2 separate regions of the Homo sapiens genome follow, and region 1 is linked to region 2. Evidence: promoter capture Hi-C in human tissues and cell types (Jung and others, 2019). All regions are on one chromosome and are shown on one strand. Each heading gives the region's core, a stretch centred on a gene start or on the middle of the fragment in contact. The rest is flanking DNA. Distances are from core to core; before and after follow the strand shown. Region 1 overlaps NPL (N-acetylneuraminate pyruvate lyase). Region 2 holds the start of TEDDM1 (transmembrane epididymal protein 1).

What was found. The method cuts DNA at HindIII sites, captures the fragments that hold promoters and counts their contacts. A contact is called where the count stands out against the background at its distance.
Region 1: a contact is called between a fragment that was not itself captured here and the fragment with the promoter of TEDDM1 in region 2, in 1 of the 25 tissues and cell types used here (spleen).

What each region holds. Positions count from the first base shown.
Region 1 is chr1:182,818,759-182,826,177 of GRCh38, forward strand. It overlaps NPL (N-acetylneuraminate pyruvate lyase), which reads left to right. Exons shown (of 13, transcript NM_030769.3): 10 at 55-101; 11 at 3,357-3,441; 12 at 7,023-7,062. Among named protein-coding and RNA genes, the nearest start is that of DHX9, 17 kb to the right of the region's middle. The HindIII fragment of the contact is 3,812 bases long and covers 3,599-7,410 here.
Region 2 is chr1:182,395,075-182,402,269 of GRCh38, forward strand. It overlaps TEDDM1 (transmembrane epididymal protein 1), which reads right to left and starts at 5,593. Exons shown (of 1, transcript NM_172000.4): 1 at 3,043-5,593. The coding sequence starts at 5,411. The coding sequence ends at 4,590. The HindIII fragment of the contact is 14,950 bases long and covers 1,177-7,195 here.

The DNA.
Region 1 (7,419 bases), core at 4,255-6,754, 420 kb after region 2:
CATCTCTTCTCTTTCTCTTTTTTATACAAGTGAATATTTTTTGTTTCTGATTAGCAACTGTTGAGTGCTCTGGTGATGGGAGCAACTGGAGCAGTGGGCAGGTAAGCATGACTCATTTTTCCCAGTGGTTATAAAGTCCCCCATAAAGGCATTCATCACCAAAGTAGCTGTATTTCTTGCATGTGTATCCTTTCTAATAGAAGTTTCCTTTCTTTTCCACATTCTTCCAGTGAAAGGGAATTAAATACTGCTTAGCTGTTTGTTAGAAATTCAGTCATTGGACTGGGCATGGTGGCTCAGCCTGTAATCCCAGCACTTTGGGAGGCCAAGGTGGGCAGATCACTTGAGGTCAGGAGTTCAAAACCAGCCTGGCCAACATGGTGAAACCCCATCTCTACTAAAAATGTAAAGAAATGGGCCGGGCACAGTGGCTCACGCCTGTAATCCCAACACTTTGGGAGGCCAAGGCGGGTGGATCACGAGATCAGCAGTTTGAGACCAGCTTGGTGAAACCCTGTCTCTACTAAAAATACAAAAATTAGCTGGGCATGGTGGCGGGCGCCTGTAATCCCAGCTACTTGGGAGGCTGAGGCAGGAGAATCGCTTGAAACCGGAAGGCGGAGGTTGCAGTGAGCTGAGATCGCACCACTGCACTCTAGCCCGGGCAACAAGAGTGAAACTCCATCTCAAAAAAAAAAAAAAATTAGCCAGGCGTGGTGGCAGGCACCTGTAATCCCAGCTACTCGGGAGGCTGAGGCATGAGAATCACCTGAACCCAGGAGACAGAGGTGGCAGTGAGCCAAGATCAAGCCACTGTACTCCAGCCTGGGTGACAGAGTGAGACTCCATCTCAAAAAAAAAAAGAAAAAGAAAAAGAAAAATTCAGTCATTGTTTAGAAGCATCTGTTGCAGTTACGGGTGAGACACATGACCACATGAATTGAGCACATGCACAGGGCCTACACCTTAGCAGGAGCTGACCCTTAGTGCTATAGACTCTGGTGACCAGTGTCTCAAGGATGGACTCACACTTTGTGAGTTCTATCTTTGTCAGAACTTATTTGGTTACAAGTAACAGAAACCCATTTGAACTAGCTTATGTACAAGAAGATATGTTATTATAAAATACTGGGAAATCACATAGAACCTAAGAGGAGGATGTACAACCAGGCCTCAGAGAAGATGAAAGCCAAGAACTGCAGAATCTCAATAGCCAAGGCAGATTATCTTCTATATGTGGTTTTTTGGAGAGACTCACCTCCACATCTTTCTGCACATCTCTTTATTTCTCTTCTCTCTCTCTGTATCCAGATGGGCTTTCTCTGCTTTAGCATGCACATGGCCAGTCATGGCTGCCCAAGCGTGGCATCTCGGGACATCATTAGATAGCACTACCTAGGCAAGTGTCCATGTCAGGTCCAACCAGAAGCATGTGGCCCAATGCCTACTTAGCAAAAGACAGGCAATTCAATTAGCATGTCCACTGCACATGTTAACCTGATTCATAAGAATATGCTTCCAAGCAGATTGAATGAAATTTTTGCATTAACTGAAAGGTACCAGGGGAGCAAAATAACATTTATAACATGTCTTGGTGAGCCTGGCTGTGAGGAAGAGTGACTGAGTTGAATAATATAAATGGCTTGTTCACCAAGCCAAGATGGCCTATGACAGCCATTGTAACTTCAGGGGTATTTCTACTGAGGAAATTTGAATGTGTATTTGTTGACCATATGTATTAATTCATTCTCACATCGCTATAAAGAAATATCTGAGAAATTTATAAGAAAAGAAGTTTAATTGGCTCACAGTTCTGCAGGCTGTACAGGAAGCATGGCAGCGTGTGCTTGGCTTCTGAAGGAAACTTTCAATCATGGCGGAAGGCTAAGCAGGCACATCTTACATGGCCAGAGCAGGAGGGAGAGGAAGTGAGGTGCCACACGCTTTTAAATAACTGGATCTCACGAGAACTCACTATCGCGACAACAGCACAAAGGAGGATGTGTTAAACCATGAGAAACTGCCCCTGTAATCCAATCACCTCCCACCAGCCCCACCTCCAGCACTGGGGATTACATTTCAACCTGAGATTTAGGCAGGGACATAGATCCAAACCATATCACCATTAAACCTTTTTCCGCCTGGAAATTCTTTCTTTTTTGGCTCCTGCTTTTTGTCCTCCATACTAGGCATTTTAATTCTGTCAACATAATCTATAAGCAAAGTACATTTGGTTAGACTTCGTTTCTCCCTAGTTATAATCACCTTTCTGTCTAACCAGGGATACACCTAAGACCATTGGGATTCAAATGTTAGTATTCTGAAACTCCTCAGACATTGTTCTTCCTTGCTCTATTGCCACAAGATAACATGAGCTTCACATTCCTGGAATCCCTTGCTGTTGACCCCAGTTCTATATATACAAGTCCAACAACATTTCTGTTAGTGGTACATCAAGATAAATACTTTTTCTGATACCGACTTACTATGAGAGAAGCCATTTGAATTTAAAGAACTTGGGGAAATATCCTTATTATGAGTTTCTATAACCTTCTACCTTGCTGGTTTCTCTAAGAATTCAGTGACTTATTTAAGATATTTATCTTTATAGGTAGAGTTGGAGAGTTTTTTAAGTCCACAAAAATATTTTGTCAGATCAAATTCTCACCTTCATTTTTGTTGAATTGTTATAGAAGACAACATGAAGCAATGGAAAGCTTTCATGGAAACCCTGAAGCCCTTCTTTAATCAAAATAAAAACCAGGCCTACCTTGCAGGGTTTTACAAGGATTAGACATGATTTATGTCAAGCACCTATAATATAATAGGCACTTAGTAAATGATCCCTCATTTTATTATCATCATTATTAATATTACTATCTAGAAACTAGTCTTTAAGTAATATACACATTAGCAAGGAATATAGGTAATTTATTGGGATTTGCCCCTATTTTCATGGTGCTCCATCCACCCAGTTTTTCAGCATAAGGCTTTTAGGACTCACCTCAGATGCTACCTTTTATCCACAGTTCTTGTCTAGCATTGCACCTGTGTGTACCCTAGGGCAAGAGCTGGCCTCAGTCGCTTCCTAACAAATACACCTCCATCTTTTTTATCTTTTTTCTGATTTTCTTCCTTTATCCCCTTTTGCCTGTCTTCCTTCTCTGCAGTACTGCTCAGTATTGCTGGAAAACTCAGAACTGAAGACAGTCTTGTCCCCTAATAGATTAGGATTCAAAAACAGACTTTAGGAGGACTAGGTGTATTTTTTCCCTTTTAAACAGCAGAGGGATTTGAAGATCTGGACCTTTCCTGTTGAGTTATTGAACCTGCAGTATTTGTTATTGTCTTGCCAGTACCTATAACTACCTGGGAAAAAAGACAAACCAGATGTTGGAGGCTTTTGAACAAAAGGACTTCTCTTTAGCCCTGAACTATCAGGTAAACGTTTTCTTCTCTTCCCATAAATCACAGCCTTTTTTCTTCCCCACTTGAGGATTCTTTTTCTTCTCTCTACCATGCCTGCCCTCATTAAAATTGCCCAGCCACTTCTTTCTTTACCTTTCTTCTGTTTTGTACTTTTTCTTGTTTAAAACCAAAGCTGTCCCCATTGTCTGTGTTCCCGACATGTCTAATCAGGACAGGACCCATACAGGGATGGCTCCTCTCTTCCTCCTAGAAAGGATCTTATTTTTACTCTATCTTCAAAGTACTTTTGTGACTATAATAAAATGGTCATAGATTTCTGGGAAAATGACCACAGGCTGTCCCCTTGAGGACATCACATCAGAGTTATCACAGAATATGAGGAAGCTATGAAGATGGTAACCTAAAATGGGGAAGGCTTCATTCAAAGTCAGGGCAGGTCAGTCTTGTCCACCCTGGAAATGTGCTGAGAACTAGGAACATCCACCAGGAAGGAAATAAGAGCCTAGTGGGTGATCCAAAGTAGATACAGGATTTGAGACAGGAAGGAAAAACCAGCAGAAGCTGATATGTTGCACGGAAGACCCCAGAGGACATAGTGGCTGCTGTGAATGTTCCATGGAGGACAGCCTAGCCATCAGGGAAAGAAGAGCCTCAGTGAAGGGTGGAACAGTCTCAACAACTGGTTGTCTTTTATTTAGAGATAGGGTCTTGCTCTGTTGCCCAGGCTGGAGTGCAGCGATGTGATCATAGCTCACTGCAGCCTTGAATCCTCCTGGGCTCAAGCAGTCCTCCCGCCTCAGCCTCCTGAGTAGCTGGGACTACAGGCATGCGCCACCATGCCCAGCTAACATCTGGTTCTAACCCATGGTTCTAAAGTGTAAATGGAATGAATTGGAAGAAAGTAGGGTGGATATGAGAGCAAGACTTTTGGGGTCTGAGAGGCGTGAGGATTTTCAGGATAGTATAAGTGGTTGAGAGGAGTATCCCAAGAAAATAAGTGGGAATGGAAAGACAGAAGCAAGATTGGAGCAAATGGTTGGTCCTAATAAAGCTTGGCTGTGGGATCTTTCTGAACAGGACAGGCTGCCATCAGGGTAATCAGAGATTACAGATCAGAAGTACAAAGTATCCTGGGGGTTAAAGGAAGTGACCTGCAGCCCCAACCCAAAGACAACATGAAGAAGCAGAATCCAGAGTGGTTTATTCCCTACCCGTAGGCCTCAAAGTTGAGCCATCATAAATCTACTTCCTCCTTAAAGTTTAAATACCATATGTAATATTCGCCTTTGTCCTCAGACCAAGTGAAGCTAAGAACAGGAACAGGGTAGGGATCTAGGAAGCTGTGCCAAATAAACTAAACATCGACAAGACTTTGGTTTAGATAAGGGTGAGAAGAATGAATTGTGCAGACTCTGCCATCTCCTTGCATTGATGGTTCTCTCCACCCTGCCCAGTTTCCTAGAAAAGGTTATTTCTGAAAATTCTAACCTGTTCTGAGCAGAACATGGAAATCATAGATGGAGTAGACTGAAGCAGCTATAATGCTGACCCTTCCATTCAGTGACTTCTCTTATTGGTTAATCTAGTCTCCATCTTTTTTCCCCTCTTAGTCCCACTCTAAATAAATCATCCCATTGAAAACAATGTTGGTAAGGAACTTAGTTTACCACTCTCTGTTTCAAATAAATCATCCCATTGAAAACAATGTTGGTAAGGAACTTATTTTACCACATTCTCTGTTTCTTCTTAAGAAAGCACGTGTGAGTGAGTCTTATTTACTCAGTACATAATTTCAGTAAAGGTGGTTTCTGCTCTTAAAGAGCTTGTAGTCAAGTGAAGAAGCAGACAAAAAGTTAGGGCTAAATTTATCTCATTCACTTTAATGTACTTAAGTGCCATCTGTTATATTTACATGAGTGAAATTACACATGTACAAAGATATTCCTTGCAGCTTTGTTTGTAACAGCAAAAGATAAAAACAGCCCAAATATTCATCCATAAGGCAATGGTTAAATACATTTTATTATGCAATTGAATTATATATAGCTCTTAAAATGAGATAGCTTTATGTATTCTGACCTGGAAAGATCTACATGCTATGTTAAATGGAAAAAAGCAGCAAAATATAAGATAGTAAATGTAATGTGCTATATTGTTCATGGGGTAGAACATATATGTTTGTAAGTCTCTGGGTATTAAAATTTTATTCTACATTTTATTTCTAGTATACAGTCAGTTAAAACAAATATGTTAAGCATTTTGAAAAATACTTTTAAATATAAAATGTTATTGAAAATGCATCTCTTAATAAGATGCATGAGGTTCTAAGGCCGGGCACGGTGGCTCACGCCTGTAATCCCAGCACTTTGGGAGGCTGAGGTGGGCGGATCATGAGGTCAGGAGATTGAGACCATCATGGCTAACGTGGCAAAACCCCGTCTCTACTAAAAATACAAAAAATTAGCCGGGCGTGGTGGCGGGCGCCTGTAGTCCCAGCTACTTGGGAGGGTGAGGCAGGAGAATGGCATGAACCTGGGAGGCAGAGCTTGCAGTGAGGCGAGATCATGCCACCGCACTCCAGCCTGGGTGACAGAGCGAGACTCTGTCTCAAAAACATAATAATAAAATAAAAATTAAAAGATGCATGAGGCTCTTTTTTAAAAAATCAGTTTGTCTGGAATCCGTGGATGAATATTACTTAATGCTAGGATAAGTTGAGGTTCAGCATCAATACTATTTTTGTTTTTAGAGAAGTAAGTGCTACAAAACTGTGTTCATGTAAGTTAGATAATAATGGAAGGAATTTTGTTATAGCAGTGTCACCCAGTTCTTTGAACATTTTTTGAGTCATATGCCAAAATCACAGAATGCTTTAATGATTTTCAGCTGAAACCTGAGTAGCAGTGTAGAAAGGAAATCATTGAAAAACCTCTGATTTTTGAGAGGACTTATTACCTATTAATTAGAAGAATCACTGTCCCTCTCTTTATCAATACCAATACTGATATTTTGATTTGTATCCCAAGGCAGTGATATAGAAGGCTGTCTTTATTTTTTTTCAAAAGTAGAAAAGACTGTGCAAGGGGAAACAGAAAAGAACAACCTGCACCTCCATTTCATGCAGATTCTTATGCTGATCAATTTTAGAAAACAGCACTTATGGAAGTTGAGGATCTAGAAATTGATTCCCATAAATCTTAGCCTTAGCCATGTGCTCCTTAGGCATCCTGGAAGGTGCCCCAGAGCTTATATGCACCTGAGTTTGAAAACCACTGCACTAGCTGATAAGTTTACCTATGTAAGCCAGATGGATAAGGGGTGTGATTCCCATCTTTACTCTCTTGTAGAATTCCATCATTGAAGCTTCTTTTCTGCACGGGCCCATTTTGTAAAGCCTACATGTATGAAAAGATCTTACCTTAGCCTGGATGGATCCCAGCCATCTTCACTTGGCTATTTTTCTCCACTCTGACAGACCTTCAGTAAATGAAGGTGTGCAGACTTTTTAGGGTTTCTGTAATTTGACTTCTACATTATTTACATTGTTTACACAGTTCAATAATACTAACTATAGATATGTTGTTCTTTTCTAGTTTTGTATCCAGAGATTTATCAACTTTGTTGTCAAACTAGGTAAGTGCCACCCATCTTCTGCTTTGTCTGCTGCTGGAGACTGTAAAGAAAATGGAATACCATCACTTTCTCTGAGGGTTCAACAAGAACACTTTTTAATGGTCTGTTGCAAGCAGAGTTCTGTTTCCCTTATTAACCCTCGGGGCCAACCATATAAAACTGTGAAGTAAACCTAGTTGGAAAATCTTTGGCAACCTTCTCCATTTTAGCACATGCCTACCCCATTTTCCATTCTTTCTCTCCTAAACCATCAGCACTCCCTCCCTTTACTTGCTTCAGCTCATTAAAATTCTACTACTGCATTGAGGTTGATTTCAGCCTAAGTGCTTGGAGGAAGGCAGTCTAAATACAGATTTT
Region 2 (7,195 bases), core at 4,343-6,842:
CTCCTGACCTTGTGATCCGCCTGCCTCGGCCTCCCAAAGTGCTGCGATTACAGGCGTGAGCCACTGTGCCCGGCCCTTTCTCTGTCTTTTAAAGGATCCATTCTCACTCTGCAAGTATGAAGTCCTTTACCTGGGGATCTGGAGTGCCTTCCCAGGGCCTGTGTGGTTGCCTTATACACATTAGACACAAAATTTAGGGTAGGGCTCACATTGACCAAACCTTTTCTGTTTAGGAAATGGAGTTTTCCCTGTGTATGAATGATTTCAATAGGCATTCAGTGAGACCTTTAAATCATGTTAAAGAGATACAATTGAGACTCAGGGTTGGGGAACACCCTGGAAACCCAACCCAGAATTGTAAAATATTCTTTTAAAAATTATTATTATGTAATAAACCAACATCAGTTCTTTCCAAAAGAATGGACCATAGTAGAATCTTAAACCAAATCAAAATAATAATAATAAAAATGAAGAAGAAAAGAAATAGCTCTGGAAGTTGATAGCATTATTCTTAAACCATAATTTAGGGAAAAGCTGTAGTTGGCCAAGCTTTCAAATTTCACTTTATACAATTAGAGAAGGAAAGACTACATTTACATTATACTTCAGTTCAATAACTAGCACTAAGAATGGAGGAATTGTTCTTTACAGTTTTTGATTGTTTGATATTCTTCAGTTCAAGACAGGAAATTGGAAATTCACGTCTCAGCCATATCTGTAGCCTGATTTGAGTTTTGTAGGATGCGTGCTGAAATCAGTCAAATACAAGGAACACTTCATTTCCCCAACTGCGTGTTATGATGGAAGGTTTGGGTCTGTTTGAGCTCTACCCTGAATCATGTCTCTAGCAGGAAACTACGTGGAAAGTTGGGAAGAATCAAGTTCATCTTAGTTAACAACCTGGGGAAAATGTCCTATTGAGAAAATTAAAGCCATACAATTCTAGAATTAGATCTTCACATCATTCTATCTTAAAGATGAGGAACTGAGGCTTAGATAACTCATAGTAACTTGATGAAGTCATGTTTGGTTAGTATTTTAGAGCTTAATGAGCTTTCAAGGTGCTGTTCTTTTTCTGTTCCCTTTCCTTTAGTCGCTTTGGTCTGTGGGTGATCTGTTCCGGGGCCACCATCTCTAAAATACTGAAATTCCTACAGTCCTCACTGAGGGAGGTGCAGAGGACAGGGAGCAACCATTTACCTCTCAATCCTGGGTATGCTTACCCAGTGACTTCTGTATAGCAGACACTCAATATATATTTTCTTTGTGAATAACTAGATTAGCAGAAAAAAACAACACCATAGGAAAGATTCTCTTTGAAGGACTCTTTGGAGATCATTTTTCACATCTGATAATCTGCCTCCAGTTTCATTGTTTTGTGAATCGGGTTTTTTTAGATACATTTTGTCCTTTATTCTCAATTTACACTGTACAGATCGTTGTTCTGTAGATTGATTGGAACATTATTGAAGCTAATTAAAAAATTTAGAGAATTTAGCATTCTGATCAAAAAATTATTTAGATCAGAGTATGTGCTTTAGTTGGTACCATTCCCAAAGAAATCCTCAATGGGATCCACAGCCCTTCCTCCCTCCCCTCCCACCTCATTAGTTAATTTGGATCCCTGTTTATTTCACATTGACTCGCCAAATTTTAACAGGAAACAAACAGCCCTAGGGTATGTTTTCTGGATGCTTGGGCAATTCTTAGTCTGCTTCTGGATTTTTCCTGTCCGTTCTCCTCTTCCACTTCTTTTAAACCCGTTCTCCGGAGACTTGTTTACTGGGGTTGGAGAATCAGAAGCTTGGCCGGGGTGGTGTGAACCTAGTGCCCTCTTGTGGAATTTTGTGAGAATGACAAACTCCCCCAAAGCTTGAGTGCTTTGAGTTTTTTCTTGAGTAGCCTTTAGTGGGAGGACCTTTCTGTTACATCTTAAATCTAGTAAGTTAATAACATGCAGGCTTATTGCCTACACTGAATATTTGAAAGCTATTATGTTGGGGGGTATCACTTGATTACCAGAGGCTTATTGTTATAGAATTAAGCCTCATTACAGGAAACAGGCAGCTAAGTGTTTGTGCTTTTTCATCACCTCCCATTAATGTGTAAGAGAGGTAAAGAGAAAAGGAAGGCTCCCAAAGAAAAGTAATTGAAAAAAGGCTAGGAACCAAGAGTAAAGGGGAAATGGCAAACTTTAGAAGCCTTGGTCAAAAACAAGTCTTATCCCCAGCTCTTGCTTTGGATCTGAGCCCAGAAATGTAAGACCCAGCCAGAAGTTGAGAGTCTGCCAGATTCTCACCCCCCGGGGGAGATGGGGGTCAGGGTAGGGGACAGAAAGTGTTGCATAAACCCACTCCTAAGGGAGGTCTAGGGTGTTTACACTGTGCTGTTTGCTTTACCTGGGCTTTCTGGCTTGTTTTCTTTTCTTTCTTTCTTTCTTTCTTTCTTTCTTTCTTTCTTTCTTTCTTTCTTTCTTTCTTTCCTTCCTTCTTTTCTTTTTTCTTTTTTTTTTAAGACATAGTCTCACTCTGTCACCCAGGCTAGGGTGCAGTAGTGCAATCTCAGCTCACTGCAACCTCCGCCTCCCAGGTTCAAGTGATTCTCCTGCCTTAGCCTCCCAAGTATCTGGGATTATAGGTGTGGGCCACCACACCTAGCTAATTTTTGTATATTTAGTAGAGACAGGGTTTCACCATGTTGACCAAGCTGGTCTCGAACTCCTGACCTCAAGGGATCCGCCCGCCTTGGCCTCGCAAAGTGCTGGGATTATAGGCGTGAGCCACAGTGCCCAGCCGTCTTTCTTCTTTCTTTCACAATTTCATTTTTTTCATTTTGAGATAACTTGTTTCTCCATTGCCATTAGCAAAGTCACTGTGGCCCAGAGGACACAGTCACACTTGCGTCAGACACACCTGCACTTAAATTCCTGTGTTGCCTCATACCAACTGTGAGACTTGGGCAAGTCAACCTGCTGGAGTCTCAGTTTTCTAGAGACTCCTTATAGAAACATTTGTGAGGATTAAAAACAATAACAGAGTCAACTTCAGAAACAAGTTACTGGATTTTATTATACCCCAAAACAAGGAAGAGAGTGGGTGCATTACTAAGGCAGTGACTCAGTGTTCAGGACTGTTGTTGTCACCCAGAGAGATTCACAAAACCTCCAACCTGTCCAGCAATACATTTAGAAGAAACAGGATTAGGGAAGACTCTGGAAGCAAAGAAGGCTTTATTAAACATAACCATGATCCATAGCTGGAGTATACATAGGAAATTTGGTAACTTGGATAAGGCAAAGTCTTTTCCCTTTAGGAGCCTGTACTTTAGTGGGTGAGGAAGAACCTTCTGAAAGAAAATGATTTCAGCAGCAGTATAAAAGAAAGTGGGTCACCTGTATGAGCAAACTAACAAAGCAGATTTAATGTAAGTGCCCAAGAGTTCCAAAACAAGGGAATCAGTAAGAGTTCTGGAGAAGGCCACCTTGGGGATACTTGGTGCGGTGTGGGGGTGGATGTAGGTTTATTCTGGGAATCGAATAACATGGTAAATATGTGACTGTAGGATGACTGGCTGTGATTTGCAAGGAAAAGAAATTTGCAAAGACCCAAGAATGGTATCTGCTAAATTGCATGTGCAAGGGTGGTCATGGTGAAAAGGAAAGTTTGGGCTAGAATAAGAGTAATAAAATGAGAAGTCAGGGAAGTACCAAGCATTTGAATGCTATAAAAATGCTATAGCAGTTGAATTCTATACAAATTTAAATTATGGAAATTTGAAATGTTATTAAGTATTTAAAAAGTCTCACTTTATATGTAAAGTTTGAAATGAAGCCAATTCTTGAAAGCTGCGGAGAGAGAAGGAGGCAAAGCGAGCATAATTTCAGCCTGTATGAATTAATTATAAATTCTATCATGCTATTTCCACATGGTGGCACCACTTTGGTGAGCACGTAAAGTACCCACTTTTCTTTATCAAGATGAGATTTGAATGGGTCCAGTTTTGAGTTGTGAGAAGTCTTTATTCCCTCAGGTAAAAGGCAATCCCTTGTGCCTGATGACGCTAATGACAGCATAACTGCTAGACTCTGTTCTCCTCCCTTCACAGCTCTTCCTTTTGTTGCATTCTCTTCCCCCAGTGGCTTTTCTTGCACACTAAGAAGAAGTGTTCTCCTCGTCCTTTTCCCTCCCTCCCGCAAATCCCATCAGCGTCTCTTTCTCAATCCCTCTCCCCTTATCTTCTCAGTAATTAGAGGCTCAGGGACAGAAAATGCACCAGCACGGGCATGGTGGCAGGCTCCTGTAATTGCAGCTACTCGGGAGGCTGAGGCAGGAGAATCGCTTGAACTCGGGAGGCGGAGGTTGCACTGAGCTGAGATTGTGCCATTGCACTCCAGGCTGGGCAACAGAGCGAGACTCTGTCTCAAAAAAAAAAAAAAAGAAAAGAGAAGAAAAGAAAATGAACCAGCAGACGGGACCAACTGCTAGCCTTCAAGGCCATTACCTTTACCAAGGAGGGTACCATGCTCGTGGCTGAGGAGCCAACAGGAGGAAGATGAGGTGGACGATGTGCCAGCCACTGTAGGCCCTGTCTCAGGGGGAGCTCTTTGGAAGGAGGAGAGCCTGGTCCTCTTTCTCTGACTGCTCCACTTCCTGTAGCAACTTGTAGAGGGGTCCTGGAGTGCTTGCATAATATGGAGCTTCTTTGGGCCCAGTCAGCTTCAAGCTGGGTCTGAAACAATGATACCAAAAGGAAGAGAAGCCATAGATTCCCAACAGGAATGAGGCATTGATCATCACATGCCAGCAGAAGAAGGTGGTGACAAACATGATGTCACTGATGTCATCGTCCTGCCATGGGTAGCCAGAGACGGGTCTGTATAGAATAAAGCCTGCCTGCATCAGCCAGGAGCCCATCATCAGAATCAGAAAGGTCTCCATCAGCTGGAGATGACACATGTTGGGAGCCCACAGCTCTGCAGTCAACACCAGCAACAGCAGGAACACCACCAAGATGAGCAGAGAATAAACGTGCAGCTCCACCCCTTCTGAATCTTTAACATGTGACACCATCAGCAGCAGGAGCTCGTAGATGATCAGGACCAGGGTACCTTTTTCTAGGCCCACACACCTCTGAGGCAGCACATTCTTGCTCATGAAGTCCACACAGCCATTAAGAGTGAGGAGGATGAACATGGTGAGGTGCTGCCACTCTTTGGGGTACATGAACCTTGATGGCACTTGCTTCCTCATGAGCACCATCCCGCCATCAAGACAGAGAACCACATAAAATGTTAAGAGGGAGCCAGTCACTATCTTTAGTAATCCTCCATAGGCTATTTTCCACAGCCTGGCACATCTTTGCTTATTCCTGGGAGAGCACAAAGGATACAGGAGACAACCTTTGAGTATCATGCCCTTGGAGACCACTGTGGCCTGATATAGTCCATAAGAGAAAAGAAATAGCCCCAGTTAAAAATGGCCAATGGACTTTCCCATGGAATACAGGCCTGTCCGACTGAAGCGTGAAGAGCAATACTCAGGACCTCTCTGCTCTCCTCTCCCTCACAGGCCTCTCGAGTTCTGGGCCTATATATACAGAGCTAAGTTCTACCTACTTTTATCATCTCCTTCTGCCCACTGCTCTCTCACAGACTGGAAAGTTCTGGACAGGAGCCTAGGTTTTTAGTGAGGTGGGTCTCATTGTTCCATTTCATTCCAGTACACTGGGAACTAATTGAGTTCTGCCAAAGTAGAAACATAAATATTTTTTAGTATGCACCTGTGGGAATTTGTGCTCTCAGGAGCTCTGCTTTTGGACCCTTGAGGACCTTCTGGTTACACTTGTCCCTCTCTCTCATGGCTTGCTTCCTTCTGCCCCTGTTCAATGCTCGGAGTAGAAAAAGAGAGGTGCCTGAGCACGGAGATTATCCAGAGAAGACCCGGGTTACTCACAAACCTTAATGCATCCTTTAAGACTCCTTACTCGGACAGGCATGGTGGCTCAAGCCTGTAATCCCAGCACTTTGGGAGGCCAAGGCAGATCTCGAGGTCAGGAGTTCGAGATCAGCCTGGCCAACATGGTGAAATCCCATCTCCACTAAAAATACAAAAACTAGCTGGGCATGGTAAAGAGTGCCTGTAATCCCAGCCACTTGGAAGGCTGAGGCAGGAGAATTACTTGAACCCGGGAGGCGGATGTTGCAGTGGGCCAGGATCATCTCACTACACTCCAGCCTGGGTGACAGAGCGAGACTGTCTCAAAAAAAAAAAAGACTCCTTACTCATATGTTGGGTCATATACTGAGAGCAAATACATTCTTCCTAGACATAAAAGTTTATAAACGTTTGGATGTGTGCTCATATATATAGATACTGAGCTCTTGTCCTCTTCATTCTTCTGTAACAGTTTTTGGGGATCACAAAGAAAGCAGCTCAATTGCCCCAAATTATCTTTCCAAAGAACAGTAGATGAATGTAAAATGTCACCTTTTGAGATCAATTTTGGAATGTTAAGGTATAATTTTTTATTAAAATGCAGATATGTTGAGATAAGTAGATCCAACAAACTGCTTATATTTTAATGTGAATTAGGTCCTCAACTTTATTCTCTCTTTAATTATCATTTACTATGTGTCTAACACATATAGGCAGAAAGAGTTCTAAGCACTAGGTAGCAGCCAGCTGCATATGAGGGGTTGCATCCAAGGCAAGAGTCTTCATTTATTTATTTTTATTTCTATTTTTATTTTTATTTTTAGACAGTGTCTCGCTTTGTTGCCCAGGTTGCAGTGCAGTGGCTTGATGACGGCTCACTGCAGCCTCAACCTCCTGAGCTCAATCAATCCTCCTGCCTCAGCTGCTGAGTAGCTGGGACAACAGACATGAGCCACCACATCCAGCTATTTTTTGTAGAGATGAGGTCTCACTACATTGTCCATGCTGGGTCTCAAACTCCTGGGCTCAAGTGATCCACCCACCTCAGCCTCCCAAAGTACTGGGATTACAGGCGTGAGCCACCGTACCTGGCCCCATTTATTTATTTATTCATTATTTTTTATTTTTTAAAATGAAAGCACATTTATTAAGAAAAAAAGGAATAAAAGAATGGCTACTCTATAGGCAAAGCAGCCCCCATTTATTTTTTTTATAAAAATTAATGTCTATATAGCCCCTCCTTATCCATGGGTGATACTTTC